Linked DNA regions of Homo sapiens: region 2 is linked to region 1. Evidence: promoter capture Hi-C in human tissues and cell types (Jung and others, 2019). All regions are on one chromosome and are shown on one strand. The core of a region is centred on a gene start or on the middle of the fragment in contact, and the rest is flanking DNA. Distances in the headings are between cores, read along the strand shown.

The links. The method cuts DNA at HindIII sites, captures the fragments that hold promoters and counts their contacts. A contact is called where the count stands out against the background at its distance.
Region 2: a contact is called between a fragment that was not itself captured here and the fragment with the promoter of NLGN1 in region 1, in 4 of the 25 tissues and cell types used here (H1 embryonic stem cells, adrenal gland, hippocampus and 1 more).

The regions. Positions count from the first base shown.
Region 1 is chr3:173,394,977-173,399,134 of GRCh38, forward strand. NLGN1 (neuroligin 1) reads left to right here and starts at 2,768. Exons shown (of 7, transcript NM_001365925.2): 1 at 2,768-3,087. RefSeq lists silencers at 622-701, 722-811 and an enhancer at 1,037-1,536. The HindIII fragment of the contact is 5,603 bases long and covers 1-4,158 here.
Region 2 is chr3:173,434,832-173,439,150 of GRCh38, forward strand. All of the region lies in intron 1 of NLGN1 (neuroligin 1), which reads left to right. Among named protein-coding and RNA genes, the nearest start is that of NLGN1, 39 kb to the left of the region's middle. The HindIII fragment of the contact is 8,103 bases long and covers 1-4,319 here.

The DNA.
Region 1 (4,158 bases), core at 1,518-4,017:
GTGAGAAAAAACATATCTCTAGTTCACGTGTCACTTCTAGCGATTTTTCTACTGCTAGGTTTTCCTTTTGGGGTTACGATTATTACAGGTGGCAATCAGTTAACTTAGTGGTTCTGTAGGCACCGCCCTATCTTCCAACTTACTTACATTTAAAAATTCACACAGAGAGGCTAGTGGGAAGCGGGTAGGTGTAAACAATGTGCTACAGTGAGTCACACCCGTCACAAAAGCCAACAATGATTAGCTGTGATTTTTTTAAAATCACCTATCCAGCGGCAGAAGCTGTGGGCACAGCCAGGAGGAAGAGGCCAAAGGCAGTGGCGTTGCGTTCACACTACTCGCACGGAACAGTCTACAGCCAACGAACGCTTCAATTCAGAGATTACTCTGCCTCTAGCTAGAGGAAGCAGAGGAAAGAGAGGGGAGTTTGGTGGCTAGAGATTTACCAAAAAGAGGGGGGCGGGGGAAAGAAGAGGCACAGTGGAAGGCTGTTGCCTCCAACTCCGCGCTCTCCGTCACCAAGACGAAAACGCCTGGAACCGGAGCACGATGACGCCGAGAAGACAGAAACTCAGAGCGTCCGACGCCTCGCGTCTGGGCGGTCGTGCCCGTTCACTCACACGCCGCTCTGAGTGGTTTGGCGAACCTCACACGTGACTCCCTGGGCCCTTCACCCCTCCTGCCGCCGCGGGCGCTGCGGAAGCTGCGGGCGGAGGACGCTCGGCTGCCGCGGGAGGAGTAAGGGAGGAGGGCGGAACTTGTAAAGGGAGGGGCCATCACCAGCACCAAGTCTGCCACCGCCGGACCCGCGCCCCCGAAGCCCACCCCCACCAAGATCGCGCCTCCGACCGGCGGGAGGGGCGCGCAGGGGAGGGGACGCTGTGCAATAAACCGGGCGGGGAGAGGGAGGCAGCGGAGGGAGTCCTGGCTCTGAGGGGGGCAGGATTGGGTCTGGAGGATGGTCTGGCTTGATTCAGACTCCTGCACCCGACAACGCCACGGAGTGAGGGGAGAGGGAGAGAGAGAAGGTGGCAGTGTGTGTGCGCGCGTGTACGTGTGTGTGTGCGTGTCTACAGGTAGCAGTGGCGGCGGCGGCGGCGGCGGCGGGGACCGGAGCAGGGGACGCATCTGCAGCCACCTCCCCGCCTATGATTTTCGGAGGCGATTGCTCACTTAGCTGAGGATCTGTAGCCCCGGGAGATCTTCTCATCCTCTCCATTTCCAAGCTTCATAGGTGTCTTCCAGTTTCAAGTGTGTGTTTTGGGTATTTTATTTTTAATTTTTTTCCTTCTCCCTCTAAATCTTCTCGGAAATTCTGCATATTGAAGCAGGTGGCTCCTGGTACGAAATCTCTGGATACATTTGGCTTGCCAAGTTTTGCTCTTCGCTGTCCCCTCCCGTTTACAGAAGCATCTGTGGTGCTTTTCATTTTGGATTTACATGCAGGAAACGTATATATGTTTATATACCGACCGCATAATATATAAATACATATACGCGTGCCCAAGGGCCTGGTTTTCGTCTCTCCTCCCCACGAAACGGAATGTTTTGGAGCCGATGGATAACAAGAACACTATTAACATTCTTTTGAGCCTGTTTTTTAAAAGGGGGAGGGAGCGTGAAGAATTGTTTAACATTTGGCCATCGTTTGGCTGCACACTAAGCACCACGAAGTATTTATGGTTGCAGATCAGGTGCAAACGGGGCTTAGAGAGAAAGGTAAGGGAGCTTCCTGCGTCCGCCGAGCTCCGGCGTTTACCTTAATCCCGGGGATTGCCGAGAACTTCCTATTCCCTGCCTCTCCTTCGCCTTCCCCACCTTCCACCCACCCTTCTCTGCTCTCTCTCTTCTGTAAACTCAACCCTTTTCCAATCCCATTGGGGTGGGGGTGGGGGGTGCTGGAGGTATAATCGTCTATTTGAGTTTAAATGCGTCTCTCTTTCCCAGGCTAGTAGCTGAGTTTTCCAATAGCCTTTCTGGCGGTTTTAGGAAATCGTGTCCTTTATAAAAAATAATGCTACCTAAATAAGTGTTTTAAACATCTGAAGATGCCAGTCCCTCACCCTATCCTCTGATGAAAATAAAAGCAATAAAAAATAATGAACTTTAATAAACTGGGTGGTTTTTTTTAAGCGTTGGGGTTCATGGAAGCTCCCAAACGCTTTTTTTCATTTAAAAAGAAAGATAACCAGCAAACAAACCAATCTCAGGAGGAGTCCACAGTGGAGGAGATTCGCCTTCCGTTTCTGCATAAAACCAATACATTTTACTTGGAGGGTAATTTGCCAGAGTTGAGCGAGACGAAGCCGTGTCTAAATAAGTACATGACACTAAATTTCCTTTTAAATCCACCTTTTACACCATGGCCAGTCGCTTGTTTAACTCCCGTTCAAGGGACACGGTTTTCAAACGTGACCTTTTGGGGAGATGTGGGAACTTCCCCTCATTTCTTCTTCTGTGCCGCTAACCTCTTTCCTCCTCCGCGCGGCATCTCCAGCCCCGGCAGTTTGTAAATTGCCCGTTTTGCCCACCCTCCTGGTGGGCGTTCTCTCCCCCACTCCACTCCTGCCCCCTCTGTCCTTTCTTCATTGGCGTCTTCGGAGCAGATGCATCTTCTTTCTTCTTGGCCTCACTCTCCCGTTCCCCCGTCAGTCCCCCCACCCGCGGCTCCCCACTTGCCCCAGCTCTCCTCGCCGCTCCTCCCCGCCTCCCCGCGGAGGGTTGACCCTTCAATTCGGAGTCCCGGCCTGTGGGCGGGCGGGGGAGCGCCGCGGCTGTAAGCCGAGGATCAGGCGGCGGCGCGGAGAGCGCGCCCGGGCGGCCAGCGCCGAGCGCGCGGAGCTGGCGTGGGGAGACACGGCAGGAAAGGCGAGTCGGAGTGGGTGATGAGAGGCCGGGAGAGCCCGTCCGAGCCGGAGAGACCGGAGAGAAGGGAGCGAGCGACTGTGCGGCGCTCACGCTGCCAGAGCCCGGGCGGAGTGCAGTCGCCTCCAAAGCCTTAGAGCGGCGCCCCAGTCACTGCAGCTCTTCACCCTAGAGCTGTGCCCTGGGACCACAGAGACCAAGAGCATGGAAATCGGCTGAGAGGTACAAAAGAAATAAGGAACAGATTACGAGAAAGCGGGGAGGGTTTCCTGGCGAAATACGGAGGCTGAGCAGATGGAGGAACAATGCCGCCTCCAGAAGAAAACCCTTGCCTGAACCCTCGGCGGAGCGCAGAGGAGCTGCTTTCAGCCTTCTGCTCTCCCCAGGCCCTCCGGCTAGTTCTGGGGTTGGTTCCGCCGGTTAGTTTGACAGGGATAAGAAAGTTGCTCTTCTTCCCCACAACGTTTCCTGAGAGGTGGTTTTCAGATCTGTGTGTTTCCAGTCAAGATGTCACTCCCTAGATCCCCCGCGTTGAGCAACTAATATATTATGCATTATTGGGCAATAAACTCTCCTGGGAAGAGAAGGTATTCCAAACATTTAAACCGTTCTCCACCGACTCCTGCCCGCCTCAACACAATGCCTTGTGAGTAGAAATGAAAAACCACCTGAATTTAAAATTATTTAGGTTGAGATTTTGCATTGGGAATAATTTCTTCCAGAGGAGGTTGTTAGTGTGTTATAGAGATGAGGGATATTACATGTCCAATATTTGATTCATTTGTGATAATTCTAAATCATGAACAGTTGGCCTCCACAAAGGTACTATTTCTTTTTGCATTTCCAGGGCCATAGTGATACATATAACACTTGGGAAACGTGAATTCGTATAGTTAACCCAGTATCTGTTACTCTGCATTTTTACAGGTAGTTAATATACTCATTTTCCCTCTTTTTATACTCAAACTCCGGTAGACTATTTTTGCTTAAGTCAATTGAGTTGTCATGCTGTACATGAAAATTACAGGGTCTTAATGCATTTCTCACCATTAATTGTGCTCAATTATTAATAGGATCATAGATATTAAAATGTCACTGAGAAAGGGTATGTGTACCTATGTTTGAGTGTAAAACCTATAAAATGTCTCAGCATTTCTATCAGCCATTGTAACCTAGCAGAACACAAGGTTTTTGAAATGAGCTCAGAAGCAAGGGCCATTCATATATTTAAAATATTAAATGTTAAATGCAAAAACATTAAATTTACTGTGCCTTTGGCAGAGAATGAATCTA
Region 2 (4,319 bases), core at 78-2,577, 38 kb after region 1:
TTGTTGGAAACTCCTAAGTGTAGCACATGCTTTAGAGGAAATTTTTTGGTCATTTGGTCTAATGTAAAACTTAAAAGGTGGCCTGAAATTCACCCACCATTTGAAAATACGTAGTTGCTCAGTTCCGTGTCACTAATTCTCTGCTTTCTCTTTGCTTTCTGACACTTCTGAGGAGCAGACCTGTGAAGCTTGAGGCCACTCAAGTTCCAAATTTGTGACAAATCCCCCAGGGCTCACTGGAGTGGCAGTAAGTTCTCGCAGTTTGATTTCCTTTCAATCACTGAAGTGTTAGAAAAGTAGTAACAAAAGCTCCCACGGCAAAACAGCAATTCTGTTTCCTGACCATCCACCATAGTCATGACTTACCTCTTTTGTTCCATTGATTTTTCTGTTGAACAATTTTAATACTTTTAGCCATACAATATGCAGTATAGTTTTGACAAGCTGGCATAATCCTTTAACCATGCTTTGAGTGTACACTTTTTCTCCTTCTACCCCCATAACCTGCCATAGAAAAACTGATTTTATTTTTGAAAATTTCTTTCCCTTTTTCAGCTATTATTTTCACTTAAATATATAATGTTTTTATGTTACAAAGTTTGATTCTCTTTTGATGATATATACATACACACACATATATGAAAATCTTATGTTCACGGAAGCGTTATGTTGTGATATTTATAATCACTTCAATAAAGTCATTTTTAGAAAAAAAAATGTAGGCTGGGTGCGGTGGCACACGCCTGTAATCCCAGCACTTTGGGAGACTGAGGTGGGGGCATATCACGAGGTCAGGAGATCAAGACCATCCTAGCCAACATGGTGAAACCTTATCTCTACTAAAAATACAAAAATTAGCCAGGCGTGGCAGTGCACGCCTGTAGTCCCAGCTACTAAGGAGGCTGAGGCGGGAGAATTGCTTGAACCTGGGAGGCAGAGGCTGCAGTGAGCTGAGATCATGCCACTGCACTCCATCCTGGGCAACAGAGCAAGACTCCCTTTAAAGAAAAAAAATAAGAAAGAAAACTTTAGTAAAAGTCTATACGATGCATTTAGTCAACAAGGAAGGCTGACATCATTTTTAATGAGAGAAGAATATTTTAAAGAAGAAATAATGGCTTTTGGGTCAGAAAGAACCACTGATATCAAACTGACTCTCTGTTCTTTGTAACTAAACCCCAAACCAAACTGATTAACCTACAGCCGCAAGAACAAAATCAAACAACACATGATGTATGTTATTAGAGCATGTCTATAACTCGCTTTTTACATCAATTTACCAAACACTGAGTGAACCCAGCACTTGTTGAGAAGAAAAGACAGAAATGATTATTTAGCCTTTGCTAAGAAATTAAGAAATCAGTTTTAAATGACCAGCATTAAAAGCAAAACAATTTTTCATTGTCACCATCCAAATATGCTAAGAAGGAAACATCTAGAATATATTTCCCAATATTAAAATTATTTCAGAGTAGTTATAAACAAACGGAAGACTGCTCCACCTCACACAATTTTGTTTATTCTGGTTAGTGGCTCCCATTCTTTGGCAAATAATGTATGGCACACACATGAGTTCTGGAACATGTTTTAATAACTCTTAATTTCCTACCACTCATGACCCATCTGTCATGATTTGAGGACCTTACATTAGGGAAGTCAAATAGGGAAGACTGTGTGTTTGTGACCAAGAGCATTAATTTTAGGCGTGGTTTAACTATGTGTCCCATTAATTCCATATCTACAGGTTTTTATCTGTAACTCAACCCAGCCAGATCCATGTTCTCCTCTTCTTTGTCTTGTTGTATGCCTTGAGAAGCTAACCTTGACTTCTATAAGTTACATCCACCCAGGCCCCCTTGATAGTTGGCTTCTTTTAAAAATCCAACAAATGCAAGACAATGGTAGGAGAACAGAGTGTAAGAGAGAGAGTTTGGGTTAAAACCCCATCCCCGCCATTCTTTCCTGCTCTAAGCCATGATTTCTAGCAGTTACTACATCTTTTTATCACTATGACCCAGGTTGGGTGGCCTTTTTCTATGCCTCCAGCTCTAACTGTACTCCAGTAACACTATTTTTCTCTTGCCCTTAGGCCAGTCATAACCTCTTTCTATTGTCATTCCCTTGGTGCTGCAATGTTCCTTTTTATTTTTCTTCACCCTGTCCAGATCTAAAGTCATCCTTATTAAAACTTCTTGAAGTAGATTCTGATTCCTGCATGACTGACTCAGACATTAGCAATAAGAAGCACTACATAAAACATTTGACTGTCAAGATTCCATTTTTGGATGTAGAAATAAGATGAGAAACCTGAGGAAAATTCCCAAGTCGTGATCTGTTTAGAAAGTACCTATACTTGGAATAATTTGACTGTTGCTTCCTCCTGCTCTTTATCCCCTGGTTTCTTAATTATCACAGCTAGATGTTCAGCTGTTGGTATTGTCTGTCACTGCCAATACCACATGTGTCTATTGTGGCCATAACTACTGCTTTCTGAGAGGACTTGGTCATCTACTGTAAAGACCTGATTACTCACTGTGACCAGAAGCCCTTTAAGATTGAATGAAGGAAGATGAGGCTTTTTCAGCTACATTATTAAAAGACAGTTGCAGCTGCAATAAAACATGCATTGGAATTTATTCAGCACTCCTGTGTGCAGCCCCTTGCTCCTCCTGCTTTTGAACGTTGATGGATATGACATTGTGTCTAATCTCAGTTGTATTCTATGGTACTTGTCTTGGAGCTGGTTCTCTGACTTGACTCTTCATTTAGCTTAGTGGACTTGATTTCCTCTCATTTGACTACCAACTTTTGATTTTCTTTAAATCTTGCCTCCAGACTACAAACATGCCAAGTATCGTGCATCGTGTGTTGTTTCTTTCATTGCCGTTCCTGCCACCATCACTCTTGGCTTTGCCTCTGCTGCTGCCATTACTTTCACCACCCCCACCCACCAACACACACACACACAGATATGCACACACACACACGTGCTGTATTGTGTTACAGACAAAGGTCTGCTATCTTTGCCTTCCTGATCCTGCCTTCCCTACTATCAGTCACCCTTTAACCACTGCCACCATCCCCTCTACCATCAAACTAGCAATTTACTGGTCTTTTTCTTTCATTTCAGCCCTTAGACTGAGTTTCCAAGTATCCAAGTCCCCAATGATTATAAAATTTGTTACTTTGGATTTTTTTTTAACATTGCAGATTTATTATCAAGGGAAGTGAGTCCTGAAGGATTCATTCATTTGGGGTTTATAGCAGATAGACATGAATATATTTCTCTCTTAAAAAAACAGAAATAAGCCTTTGATGGTTTGGTTATTTTGACATAACTTTCACTTTAATGGTGGTTTTTTCCCCCTTTGGACTGTATTTCCAAATCAAAACCCTTTTAATTTGATGATGGAGAAAATCTTATATCCTAGATGCATAAATGTTTTGTGTTGTAAAGTTTCTATATCAGAAACCCAATTTCCTGGTTAAGATAGGAATATAGTTTTAAAAAGGTGAAAAAAAATGAGCCTTATACATATCGTCTTTCCTATTAAAAGTATACAAGGAAAAAAATGGCAGAAATGAAGGAAATAACTAAGTTAAAGAGACATGCCAACTTGATCCAGAATTTCTTCCCTGGATCCTGGGCTCACAGATCCAATATGCAGTCTTTTTTAAACAGTATGCAATATAGTGCTCTTATTTTTAAAAATAATATGATTCTAATATTGATACCTGTTATAATTATGAATCACTGATAAAAAGTTTTAATTTTTCACTTTTATTTTCAAAGTTTAGAGCTGAAATTATTAAGAAAATATAGAAAAACTGCGGAAGATTTAGGGATCATTAATAGTCTCTCACACGTTTCAAAATGGGATTCTAAAGAAAGATTAAAGGAATTAGAAATATTCAGTAGACAGAAAAGATAAAGATACAGTTGCCTTCAGGGAGTTAATGGGTACTGGATGTTCCTTTTTCTTCCTTGAATGTAAGAAGAGGGAACAGTGTTATATGTTAGCAAGAAAAGTAAAAACCATAGTTATCGTGTGGACATTTTCAGGATTATCTCTTCTGAAGTTCCTTAAAGATAGACTTATCTGGGAAATATTTCAGTATTTTCCAAATTCAATTCAGTAGAGACACAATTTATCAGAGATACTCACTTTCTAAGATTTCCTTGGTCAAAACAGCTTGACAAATATCTCATATTAAATTCCTCTCTTGGATATTAGCAATCTGGATTAGCATATTTAAGAAAAATTTCTGGAAAGAAAAGAGCTGTTGAAGTCTGTTTAATGCTTAGGCAACAAAGTTTG